2 separate regions of the Homo sapiens genome follow, and region 2 is linked to region 1. Evidence: promoter capture Hi-C in 16 types of primary human blood cells and fetal thymus (Javierre and others, 2016). All regions are on one chromosome and are shown on one strand. Each heading gives the region's core, a stretch centred on a gene start or on the middle of the fragment in contact. The rest is flanking DNA. Distances are from core to core; before and after follow the strand shown. Region 1 holds the start of SLAIN1 (SLAIN motif family member 1). Region 2 overlaps BORA (BORA aurora kinase A activator).

Evidence for each region. The method cuts DNA at HindIII sites, captures the fragments that hold promoters and counts their contacts. A CHiCAGO score of 5 or more calls a contact.
Region 2: a fragment that was not itself captured here is called in contact with the fragment with the promoter of SLAIN1 in region 1 in 1 of 17 cell types (non-activated CD4 T cells); the score reaches 5.9 in non-activated CD4 T cells.

Annotation. Positions count from the first base shown.
Region 1 is chr13:77,692,900-77,699,446 of GRCh38, reverse strand. SLAIN1 (SLAIN motif family member 1) reads right to left here and starts at 1,760. Exons shown (of 7, transcript NM_001242868.2): 1 at 908-1,760. The coding sequence starts at 1,533. MIR3665 (microRNA 3665) reads left to right here and starts at 1,331; the gene lies at 1,331-1,435. RefSeq lists silencers at 693-842, 1,003-1,242, 1,443-2,002. The HindIII fragment of the contact is 5,751 bases long and covers 1-3,624 here.
Region 2 is chr13:72,731,719-72,737,810 of GRCh38, reverse strand. It overlaps BORA (BORA aurora kinase A activator), which reads right to left. Exons shown (of 12, transcript NM_024808.5): 4 at 2,806-2,851. Among named protein-coding and RNA genes, the nearest start is that of BORA, 6.8 kb to the right of the region's middle. The HindIII fragment of the contact is 192 bases long and covers 4,002-4,193 here.

The DNA of each region.
Region 1 (6,547 bases), core at 511-3,010:
AGTTACTCATTCATGGAAAGTAGACAGTGCTAACCAGATGTCAACTGAATAAATGCTGTCAGCCTCAAGTTTTCTGATAACCAAGCTAAAAAGTTTCCAAGAAATAAGAAAATAAGGCTTCTCTAATCTCACTTTTCTTCTACAGTTTAATTTAAAAAATTAAAGACAGTTCGTTGGTTCCTAGGTAAAAAAATAAATAAATAAATAAAAAAGTCCCTCCCACCTGTTCATTCCACTCCAAGAAAAGTCCTCTTTATTGGCACTATTTATGGGAAAGCCAGTGAGGTCACCCCATTTTAAAAAGCAAGTCAGTCTCTGAAAATAAGATTTCAATGAAAATGCAACGCAAAAGGGCACACGACTGCAAAATTCAAACAGCAAGAACGAACCTCTCTATAAAGAGAGATCCATCACTGCGCGGCTTCCGATGCCACCCGAGGAGGAAGAGCACGCAAATCCTGTCCAGCGTTCGTTTAAAACGAAAGAACAGTAACAGTCGCAGACAGAGGCCAACCCCTACCATCCCCCGTCATCCCTCCGAAAACACTGGGGAAAAGAGCAGCACTGAGCAAAAAGACAAGATGACATGGATTTTGCACTTAATGCTAACGAGGAGCTTGGGACCCAACAATCAGCAAATAGCAGAACCCATGGCAGATGGGGGGAAGGGGGGGCCGGTTCATCCGCAGTCGGAGCGATTAGAAAACAGGTTTCTGCCTTCATGAGAAGCCTCATCGTGGGAAGTGTCACCGCCTGGCTCAACACCTGCTGGGTCGGCCCCTCCGGGAGCCGCGGGGAGTCACCCCGGCTGCCGCGAGGGGACCCCCGTCCGCCCCCCGCCCCCGCTCCCCGGTGCCCGAAGCCCCCGAGGCCAGGGTCTCGGGGAAGGAGCGGAGCCAGGCAGTACCAGGTGTAGTCGTCCTCGTCCCGCCAGGCGGCTACGCTCTCCAGATCCAGCAATTCCACCTCGTCCAGCAGCGTGGGGGGCGGCGAGGGCGGCGCTGCAGCTGCCCCTGGCGGCGTCCCCGCGCCCCCCGGCTCCGGCCCGCCACCGCCCGCGCCGAAGAAGCCTGCTGCCGGCTTGAAGTAGACGAAGGGCGCCTCGGGTGGCTGCGCCAGGCTGCAAAGCAGGGAGGGCGCGGGGCTAGGCAGGCAGAAGGTGCCCGGGAACGCGGGGCTGGAGCCACCGCCGCTGCCACTACCGCTGCCGCCACCGCCCCCCGCGCCCAGCGCCAGCCCGAGCCCCAGGCCCCCTGAGGCCGCGGCGGTGGCCGTGGCGGCCGGGGGGCTCCGAGGACCCAAAGGCTGCAGGCCAGCGGGGGGCGGCGCGGCGGGCGGCGGCGGCGGCAGCAGCAGCAGGTGCGGGGCGGCGGCCGCGCTGGCCGCTCGACTCCGCAGCTGCTCGTTCTGCTTCTCCAGCTTGCGCACCAGCTCCTGCAGCTTCTTCACCTCCAGCTCCGCGTTCACCACCGGCCCGGAGCCCGCTCCAGAGCTGACCCCTGCCGAGGCGCATTTCACCTGCTCCGCCATCATCGTGGGCCCCGAGGGCGCCGCGGCCGCCGGGGAGTGCGCGCCGCCGCGCCGGCTCCTCGGGCCACGGGGAGGCTACGGCTCCTTCCCTGTCGCCCCGGCCTGGGGGGCCGACCACGCGCGGGCTGAGGCCGAGCCGGCGGTTCGCATCAGCACCGGGCCCTCGCCTCCGGCCGCGGCAGCCACCACCGAGCTGATCTGCACATGCTCAGTGCGTCCCTCCAGTCCCCTGGGCGTCGCGGCGGCTCCGGGTTTTAGCCGCGGCCCCGGAGCGGGGCGGGGCAAGAGCGCCGAGGGGGCGGGTGGGGGGGGGGGGGCGGAGAACCGTGGGGAAGCCCACCCAGGGGGCGGGGCCGGCAGCCCGGGTTGGGGCCGGGGAGCCGCACCCACCCTCGCTACCTAATCCCAGGGGCCTGATTGGACCTGGCCTGAACTTTCCCGCCACAAGCACCTCCTCCTGCCGCTTGGTGGGACAGTGAACTGCGCGGGTCTCTGAGGCGGTTGCGGGGACCAGGGGGTTCCCAAAGAAGCAGCTGCAGGTGCTGGCCCTCGAGTAGTGCACCACCGGCCCGCTGGTTTGCTCCCTTCCCAGCTCTCTGTTAGGCTCCGTGACAGCACTTAATAGCCACTGGCTAACGAATCCTATAGAAAACTTAAAGGCTGGGGATCGTTATTCTAAAAACCGAAAAGTGGAGATAGGGGGAACAGAAAGGCTTTGGGACCATGCCACTCATGTTCTCATTGGTAATAGAGAAGCAAAATGGTGGGAGACAGGAGACCGAGAAGAAAGAGAAGAAAGCCCTCTCTCTAAGAGGTAGAGTGGCCAGCTGCTAAGGAGACAAGTGTTTACTTATTTATTCTAAAATAGTCAAATTTGAACTGTTACCATCATTGTTTGTCACAATAAAAGAAGAACTGCTTTTTTTTTCATACTATGTATATTCATGCATTCCCCAAACAAAAGATCTTTGAGCACCTACTCTGTGCCAGGAACCATTCTAAGAGCTCGTGATGCGGGCAATGAGTACAATAGGCAAAAATGGTTATGGGGAGAAATATGAGTAAAATTGTTTAGTGCTCCTTCTATTAAATAATGTGTAAGTTATTAAAGTCAGACTTGCTGGTGGGAAAGCAGAAAACAGAAAACCTCAGAATTCTACCCAATACACTTTAATCTCACCTGCAAACCTGCTATTTCTTACCACTTGGAAAACGAGCAAATCTGCTTTTTTTAAAAGAGGCTTTTAAGCAGAAGAATTTAATCGAGTTGTGTTCAATGAATACTGACTGACTTAGCATTTTGAGTGTTTAACACAATCAGAGGAAAACCTGAGATTATATTATGAGAAAAATCTACACCACTGGTTCTCATCCTCAGATGATATACTATCTAGTGAAAGTCCTTGCTAGGGACTTTACATACCAATCTTTGTGACAATGTACCTCATTTCTCTGGAGCTGCTAACACATCGTATCTATTGGTTTCAGATATGGTTTTGTGTCTTCCTGCTCAGAAACACTTGTATCTTCTCAGTTGTTAATCTACATCTCTAGCTTCTGTGTGCAGGGTGGATGTTCTGCATTTAACATGCTTGGTGAGCGCTTCCATAAATTAGCTAAATGCGTGTGATGACTCCCTTAACCTTCCCTGTGTCCCAGCTTGCTAGCCCACCACCTAACCACCTGTATCACCCATCACCTTTCCAAGTTTCGGTATATCTTTAGGATTTTTTTTGGTTATTACCAAAACCTGGAGAAATGGAGTAATACTACTGAAAGTCCTAAGTAAAGAATCTATTGAAGGATTTTTCCCGCATGCTCAGTGGCAGATGCGGGTAGCAGTATCTCCCTGCAACACAAAGAAAGGGAGACGACAGACACAATGAGAACAAAGAGCTGCTGGGTCCCAGACTAGAGAAAGAAATTGGGAATAGGCACATAATAGTGAAGACAACAAGAATTAAGATGTAAAGAAAAGCCGTCATTTTACTGCACAATTTATATACACTCTAAAGAAGGAGAGAAACAGACAGCCCTTTCCTCCTTCATTTACCCAATATGGTCTATATACATCCAACAAGCAGTAGCCAAGCTTTTGAACCCTGTTTTCTAAGTAATAATTATCATAAAAATCTTTGTTCTTTAAAAAGAAAGCATGCATTGAAATTTAGACATAGAAAAGAGATGAAACATTGTTTTACAATTCTAGTCTGCATTATTCTTCTGAAAAGACAAATTTGCCCTTTTCCTACCTATTTTAAAAGTGTGAAATTATTAATGTCTAAAGAAAATTTAAATCATGTTTTTGCTTTCTCTTAATGCCCCTCTTTTTTTCCCTTCTGTGAATTGCACATGTACACACACCAGAGACACTCAAAATGCACACTGATTTCAAGTTGGTGTCCCCAGGATGCCAGTCTCTTTAACGTATAATTAAAGAGGTTGATGGTGTCAAGGTTTTAATTAAGCAGTCTTGATTTTTTTATTTTGATGCAAATTAGTAAGCTTTGTGTTTTGAAAGAAATTGCATGCTGTAGTTGCTCAATTGTAATGTTTTGATTTTAAATAAAATATGTAGGTGATTTCAGAGGTTTACAAAGAGGATATGAAAAATGAAAGTGCATGTCTCATTTAAAAGTTTATGCTTTAAGCATACATTTGATACACCATAAGGTAATGTGAAACATCCACATATCACACATTCAAAACTGGATAAAGAAATGCATGTTTCTCTCTATTCATTACACTTCAGAACTATCATCACTCTAGTGAATTTTAAGAAAGCACATGAACTTATTTTAATTTGTATTTTTCACATATATTTCTAATACTGTGTATGAACATTAAATAGATCCAGCAACAGAATCGCAAAAGCACCCATAGGTTCTTGAGTATATAAAAATAATTCTCAAAGGAAATCTAGAAACAGCCTGTTATTATCCCAGTTTTACAGATGAGCTTACAAGGTTATGTTACTTGCCCAAGTTCACTCATGAAAATGATGGTTCTTAGCAGTTGCTAGTGGGCCAGAGTAAAATTTCTCCTAGAGTAAGATTCATACGTTTAAATTTTGCGATCAGTGCAGCTGACATACCCTAATATGAGCACTACATTAATTCAAGTTTATAGATCCAATTACTGCAAGAAAAGAAAATAACCTAATGTGTTAAACTAAGATCAAAGATCCCCAACTGTGTTTTCAAGTTGATTTGAACCACAATGTTTGAGTGATTCTTATGCCTCTTCATGGAGATTCCTGTTTATACATACAGAATAGACTCGAACACTGCAGGTCCCACTGCCCATATGCAGTGCCTAGCACAGTGTCTAGCACATGGCAAATAAATACTCAAAAAATTTTAAAAGATAAATGAATCAATAAATAAATCCCCAAGTTCTAGCTGGAATTTAGACAAACACATAATTAGCTATTTCCATAAACCTCATTTATCATATGGTAACAACATAGGAAGACTAGAGGCTTTCTGCAGATCCCATAATAATCAATTATTTTACATCTGACCCAGTTAATAGCCAGGAAAATACTTGCTGCACCTAATGTGTTGCATTTTAATGTAAGGAGATTATGGAAAGAGAAAACAGAAATACAAGAAGTCAGAATTTATTCAAAAAAAATCCCTGTGTGAGTTGCTCCATTCTAACCCCACCCAACTCTACTACTCATATTCATGCCCAAAACCCACATAATTATACCCTATAAGGTCACATGTGGTGGTAGTTATAATAACAATAATAGTAATAATAATCATTCTGTTGATTTGTCAAGCTATACCTGTAAGAGCCCTTTAGAATAAACACTCATTACATGTCTATTATTTTCAAGTGCTAGATGAGTTTTGAGAAGTGAGTAAGAAAACAGTGTCTCCACCATCAAGACCTTATCTAGTTGGAGAAAGAAGCATATAAGCAACTAACTATAACACAAAAATTAGTGTTATGTATCATGAAGAAAATATAAATAAACAGCATAGGGAGTGATCAAGAAGGAGCAATTTTGGCTAAAAATTTTGGGAAGGCCTCAAGTAGAAAGCAAACATTATTTCAACCAGGCACGGAGGCATGTGTCTGTAGTCCCAGCTACTCAGGGGGCTGAGAAAGGAGGATTGCTAGAGCCCAGGAATTCAAGGCCAGCTTGGGGAACATAGTGATATTTCATCTCTAAAAGAAAGAGAGAGAGAGGAGGAAAGGCAGGCAGGCGAGGGAGGAAGAGAAGGCAAGAAGAAAGAAAGAGAAGGGAAGAAAAGAAAGGAAGGAAGGAGAAAGAGGGAGGGAGGAAGGAAGGAAGGAAGGAAGGAAGGAAGGAAGGAAGGAAGGAAGGAAGGAATCCATTATCTCATTTGGATCTCCTCATTTAAGAGAATTCATTATCTCATTTGGTTCTCCTCATCAAGCTGTTAGCTAAGGCATCAGGGCAAGTATTGTGATATTCATTTATCAGTCTTCATGGGATGAAAACTAGGAAATAGTACCCAGCTCTAATTCTTAATCTATATCCTTTCCTCTGTGGTCGATTTGTTTTGTTTTTATGAATAGCTCACACATGTATTACTGCCATTAGAAAGAAACTTTCTACAATTTATCTTAGAAGCTATCTAGTGCTTACTAAATGCCAAGAATTGCTGTAAGCCCTTTACATTTATTAAGTTATTAAATTGTCAAACAACTCCTTGAGATAATTATTCTTATTGTATAAACGAGAAAACTGAGGCACAGAGAGGTCAATTTGCCCACAGTTACCCAGCCATAAGTGGCAGAGCCAGGATTTGAAGCTAAGCAGTCTGATTTCAGAGTCCAAGCTCCTAAACTGTATTATCTCTTTTTAGGTCTTAAGCAGCACCAAGCAGAGTACTCTGCTCTGGTCTTTGTGGCTTTTAAGTAAAAACTATTGATTAATGCAAAATCAGTCAATGGAATGCCTTGAACAAAGTCTGATTCATTAACAGGCAAATATTACTGGAACTTTAAAGGTCACCAAGCACAGATTAGAAAACAGTAA
Region 2 (6,092 bases), core at 2,848-5,347, 5.0 Mb after region 1:
AAGAAATTTAAAGTATATATAAAGAGGAATCTTAATACTTCAAATCAACCAGTTAAATTTGAAACTTGCAAACTAAACTAAGAGGATTAATCATAGACAAAGTATTTTAAATTTCTTTCCCAGGTTTTTTTGATGGGGTTACAAAAAAAAGGATGAAAAGGGAAGGAATATATTAAGACAGAGACATGCAAGTAGGCCAGTATGAATGACGGCACTGAAGCTGGCTTGTTTGTTCTGGCTCTCAAGATCTGATTATTAAATTTTCAAGAATTCTGTGCACCAGTTGTTAAAACCAATATTAAAAATAAAATTATGTAAACTTACAATTAAATATATTAAAAATAAAGGTAACAAATATCCAAAACTCACCACTTGCTAATTATTTTATATATTTATCAATGTCTATGCTCTTGAGGTTAATAATGTATTTTGTATCTGTATGGTGGAATTCCTACATATAATGGTGTGCCACTATTCTTCCTTTCCCATTCAGTGATGTCACATCAGTAGCTTGAAACTGGCCATGGTTGGAGTACTTACACTATGGATAGCAGGAATCGCTATAAATCGTACTCCTTCCACGACCAGAGAGCAAGTTGTTAAACATTCACCAGCACACTACTGGCCAGTATATTCAAATGAGATAGAGCATTTGTATACTTTTCTTTCCTCTTTCATTTCTACCACAGTGTTTTCCCTTCCCTAGGTTTTGCAAGTAACCAAACATATTTTCTTCATATTTTGCTATACATATGACAAAGAGCTAATTTTCTTAACTAAATTACCCATGAATCTAAGAGGAAAAGATTCTTTTTTTTTTTTTTTTTAAAGGTGGACTGGGGCAGATATAGACAATTACCAGAAAAAAAATTAAAGGACCTATAAACTTACAAAGTGATGTATAAGTTCACTCAAAAGTAAAGAAATACAAAAAAAAAAAGTCATTTTTAAAGTAATAGGAGTAGAACAAATTAAGAATTCTGATAATAATCAATATTGGAGATATGGAAAATCAAGCAGTGTCACACTGTAATCAGGAGTATAAACTGGTATAACCTTTTAGGAGGGCAATATGGTAAAATCTACCAAAACTGAAAATTCACAAAGCCTCTGACTTACTAGGTCCATTTCAAGAATATAAAGATATATATACAAATCACTGCAGCATTATTTGTGACAGAAAAATAATAAACACAATTTAAACATCTGTCAACAGGGGCTAGGTAACTATGCTGTTGCTAAGAGAATGTAAAAATCTGTATATGCTGGTTATCAAAAATTTCTAAGAAAAATCATGAAGCAAAAAAAGGAGGATGCAGTATGAGAACGATAATAGTATGAGAATGATAATCCTATTTGTCGAAAATATTTTAAGGACATATGCTATTAAATAAGTAAAATTAATCTGAAAGTACACATAAGAAATGTTATAGTCATTACCTTCATGAAGTGGGATGGGGAAACAGGAGGCTTTTTATTTTATATTTTTTCTTTTTGTTTTTACTATATGTATATGTTTCTTCTATTTTCAAAAATATATATTGAAAAGAAACAAATTTTCTTAAGTTTACCTGCTGGGTTTCTCTTTAAAATTAAGGATTCTTAAAGAAAGTATTTTTTCAAAATGTTGGAAATTTTGAGAGTCTGAGAATATTCAGGTGGGGAAGAACCAAGTGACTGAGTCAGAATGAAAACTGTGCAGTTACTAGATAGAAGAAGAAGTAGGTAATGTTTAGCAGGAGTAAACATAGTCTTTTGTGGTACGGAAGAGCCAAGTACGGCTAAGGAACAGAGGAGGGTTGAGGGGGCTAGAGGGGCAGAAAAGTAAAAATCAGAAATGCTGCCATCACATAAAGACTTTCTGAGGAAAGAACAAGGTAAGTAACCCTTACTTAGATGCTGGGCCAGGCGCAGTGGCTCACGCCTGTAATCCCAGCACTTTGGGAGGCCAAGGTAGGCGGATCATCTGAGGTCGGGAGTTCGAGACCAGCTTGACCAAGATGGAGAAATCCCGTCTCTACTAAAAATACAAAATTAGCTGCGTGTGGTGGCGCATGCCTGTAATCCCAGCTACTCGGGAGACTGAGGCAGGAGAATCACTTGAACCTGGGAGGCGGAGACTGCAGTGGGCTGAGATCATGCCATTGCACTCCAGCCTGGGCAACAAGAACGAAACGCCGTCTCAAAAAACAAAAAATAATAATAATAATAACCTTATTTAGATGCTAAGAAAGGCAATTCAACAGACATAAAAAAGCAAAAAACTTAATTATTTTTATTTTTTAGAAAGCCTACATTATGATATACCTTTCCTGTTTAACAGTAAGAGATTTTATTTCATGAATATCTTAAAAATCCAAAGTATTAACAAAAAAAGACAAAGCCATTCCCAATGCCAATCTAGACTCTGAAGGCCTGAGAATATTCGACTTCCTCTACATAAACTCCAACTTGAAACAAAGTTTGTGCTAATCAACATTTTGAAGGCACAAGGAAGACAAATTGTGCTAGGTCCTGAGAATGAAAGGATGAAGTACAGTATTGGCCAAAAAAGATTGCGTCTAGGGGACAGAAACACTAAACTGATCATTACAACAGTATGCAAGTGCTATGCAAGGTACTGGGATAGCTGGAAATTATTGGTCTTAGGACAGTACAGAAGGGTGCTTTATATAGATGGGACTGTGAAGGGCTTGGAGGGGAGATAGGACAGTGAAGGAATTGAAGAAAGTCTTCCTAAAAGAAGTGATGTACATGCAGAATTGATCCTTAACTGATTTAATGATCAGTAACAGTTTAAGTTACCTCTTCAATGGCTTTTTGTCTTTTGTCTTCCACATCTTTATCTATTCTATACAAAGATAAAGAAGAAAAATAACCATGCTATTACTTAAGCTTATTGAACATTTTAAAAAATAACCTTTCAAATAAATAATCTCCCTTCATTGAAAACTGGCAAATGTTAAGCTCACTTTATAATTAATACTAGTGGTATCTTGTAACATTTAGTAACATTTAGGCAGTATTCTGAAATTCAGCAGTTAGCTGTTAGGCTTACCTCCCTCTTTTCCATTCAAAGTTTGAATGCAATGATACTTTATTTCAAAAGACTTACATTGATATTAAATTGCTTTTAACAATATAAATTTGATAAACTTTGTCCCTTAATACAAATTAAGAAGTATTTAATTCAACATACATCTAAAAATTGTCCAAAGTTTTTCTCTTCAATTATAACAAGTTTATCATGGCAATAATTTTAGAATCAACTTTTACTGTAAAATAGATGAGGATAGTTCACAGTTCTAAACAGTCAAAAATATTAACTCTGAAATAAAACACTGACAATATAACATTTTTTCCAAATGAATTTTTTTTTCACTTTGATACAATCTGCAATTACTGTTATATAAACTTCTCAGCTACAAGATTTAATATAAAATTTTGGGTCCAAGCACAAAGCATATACTTGCCAAGGACTCAGCAGTTAGCTTTCTAGGACCACTTCTTTATTCCATTACAGGAAAGAATCCTTGCCTTCCATCAGTAAATTGGTAAGACATATTTTTTTTTACAATTTAAAATTATTTTGTCTCAGAATTTTTTCTTTAACTTTTATTTTAAGTTCAGGGGTACAAATGCAGGTTACACAGGTAACTTGTGTCACTGGGGTTTGTTGTACAGATTATTTAATCATCCAGGTATTAAGTCTAGAATCCATCAGTTATTTTTCCTGATCTCCCTCCTCTCACCCTCCACCAGGCCCCAGTGTGTGCTGTTCCCCTCTATATGTCCACATGCTCTCATCATTTAGCTCCCACTTATAAGTGAGAACATGAGGGGTTTGGTTTTCTGTTCCTGTATTAGTTTGCTAAGAATAATGGCCTCCAGCTGCATCCATGTCCATGCAAAGGACGCGATCTCATGCTTTTTGTGGCTGCATAGTATTCCATGGTGTGAATTTTTTTCACATATAGACTTGCTCATGGCTTAATAAAGCTTATATGAGAATGTATACATTTCAGAAATTAAGTAGATTTTTCAAGTGGGAGAAGTATGAGAAAATAAACTACAGTGTCAACCCACATATCCCAGCTTGAACAGTAGCCATTTTGAGGATAACAAAATGGCCTTCATCTTATCAATGGTTCTCTTCATCTTATCATGGTCAAAATGGCAGCACATAACAAGCTTAGCAAATAGCAAGTAAGCTCTGAACTAGGATTACTGCATTCAGAAACCTTTTGCTACTTCATCAGAGGGACTTCAAGAACATGAAATACTCAGGTGATTGCTGGAAACTGTAAAAATCACTGTGGCCAAATACTCTAGAGTCAGATCAAACAAGATTCTAAGAAGTCATACAGGGGAGAGCATCCTGACCAGCATACCACTGAACACCAGTATGATGCATATAGGTATAGGTGTGGCCTGAATGTTGAGCCTTTGCAGGGTGGCAAAGGAGAGGGGACCTCAGGACTGGTCACCTACATGGCCAAGACTCACCTGCTTACACTGGTATGCTTTTCAGTTACAATTTTCTGTGTGGATGGTGGCATGAAAAGGATGGGAAGAATTGAAGTAGAGGGCTAATATGTAAGAAGAGATACTGAAAGACACTGCTTGTTTCTAAGGATGAAACGAGATGCTCTGTGAAGAATATATTGACTATCCTTGGTAGAAGCCATAACCATTCATTGAATTATATTATTAAATTAAATTATAATATTTTCCCACTCTTTTCCATTCTTCTATATGATAAATCTATGTACTAAGAGACACCAAGATTATCTTTATAAACCTTTGCAGACAATATATCATTTAGTAGTAAGAACAGAAGCACTGTGTTACAACTTTGGTCTAATTATATTTTTGACTCTTGACTCTTAGTATCTTGTACTTCTTCAGTGTTTCTTACAGTCCCTCACAGTACTCAATAAGTATCTCTTGACTGATCAATATAATAATTGTCCATCATTCAATATATTGAAGAAATGAGACAAAATAATTAAGCATAATTAAGTTCGTGTGAAACAAAAAATTAGTCACTGTGACTCATTTGCTTTTAGATATTCATCTCACCTTCTCTTTCAAAGGTATTATTTATTTACTTATTTATTTATTTTATTTTTTTGAGATGGAGTCTTGCTCTGTCCCCCAGGCTAGAGTGCAATGGCATGATCTCAGCTCACTGCAACCTTTGCCTCCTGGGTTCAAGCGATTCTCCTGTCTCGGCCTCCCGAGTAGCTGGGATTACAGGTGTGCACCACCATGCCCGGCTAATGTTTTTGTATGTTTAGTAGAGATGGGGTTTCACTATGTTGGCCAGCCTGGTCTTGAACTCATGACCTCAAGTGATCTGCCCGCCTCAGCCTCCCAAAATGCTGGGATTACAGGTGTGAGCCACCACACCTGGCCTCAAAGGTATTATTTAAATTTAAGTTAAAATCCTTTCATGCTTCATCCTCATTCTATTCCCTTCCTATTAACACTCTGGGTGGACATTAATTTTATGATTGAATGGTCATCATGTTACCAAGCAAAGAGAAGATGGAGGAGAAAAGCCAGTAAGTATTTACCAGAATATCTCAATATGTGTGCAACGTTGTGTGACTGAATTCTTAAGTCAAAGGGAAAAGGATTATCCTTTGTTTTGGACTAACAACATGTCTACCTTAGGACAGCAAATTAAAATCTGGTCATACCATGTATTTGATTTTTTTCAAATATTAAAAAATCAGACTATAAAACATATAAACAAGAGTCCCTAAAACTACAAAAGAATAATAGGACCTTACACTTTGTAATAAAAAACTAAATCTGCAGTACATTAGTGCCTTGAAACCTAAACAACACATCAACAAATAAGACTGCACTGGGTGATATGTAGAATTCTAGAAAATGTAATTCAGATTCCAAGTGAATTGTTACAGTTGGATGATGTCTAAAAAACCGCTCTGTTGCTAATGGATACCCTTCCATTCAGTGCATACGTAACTCTTTGAGGGGGTTTTAGGTTTCCCCAAACATAGATAACAATGAAACAGCATTTTGCTTTACCCCAAATCATCAAAAAGACAAACTGAAACAAG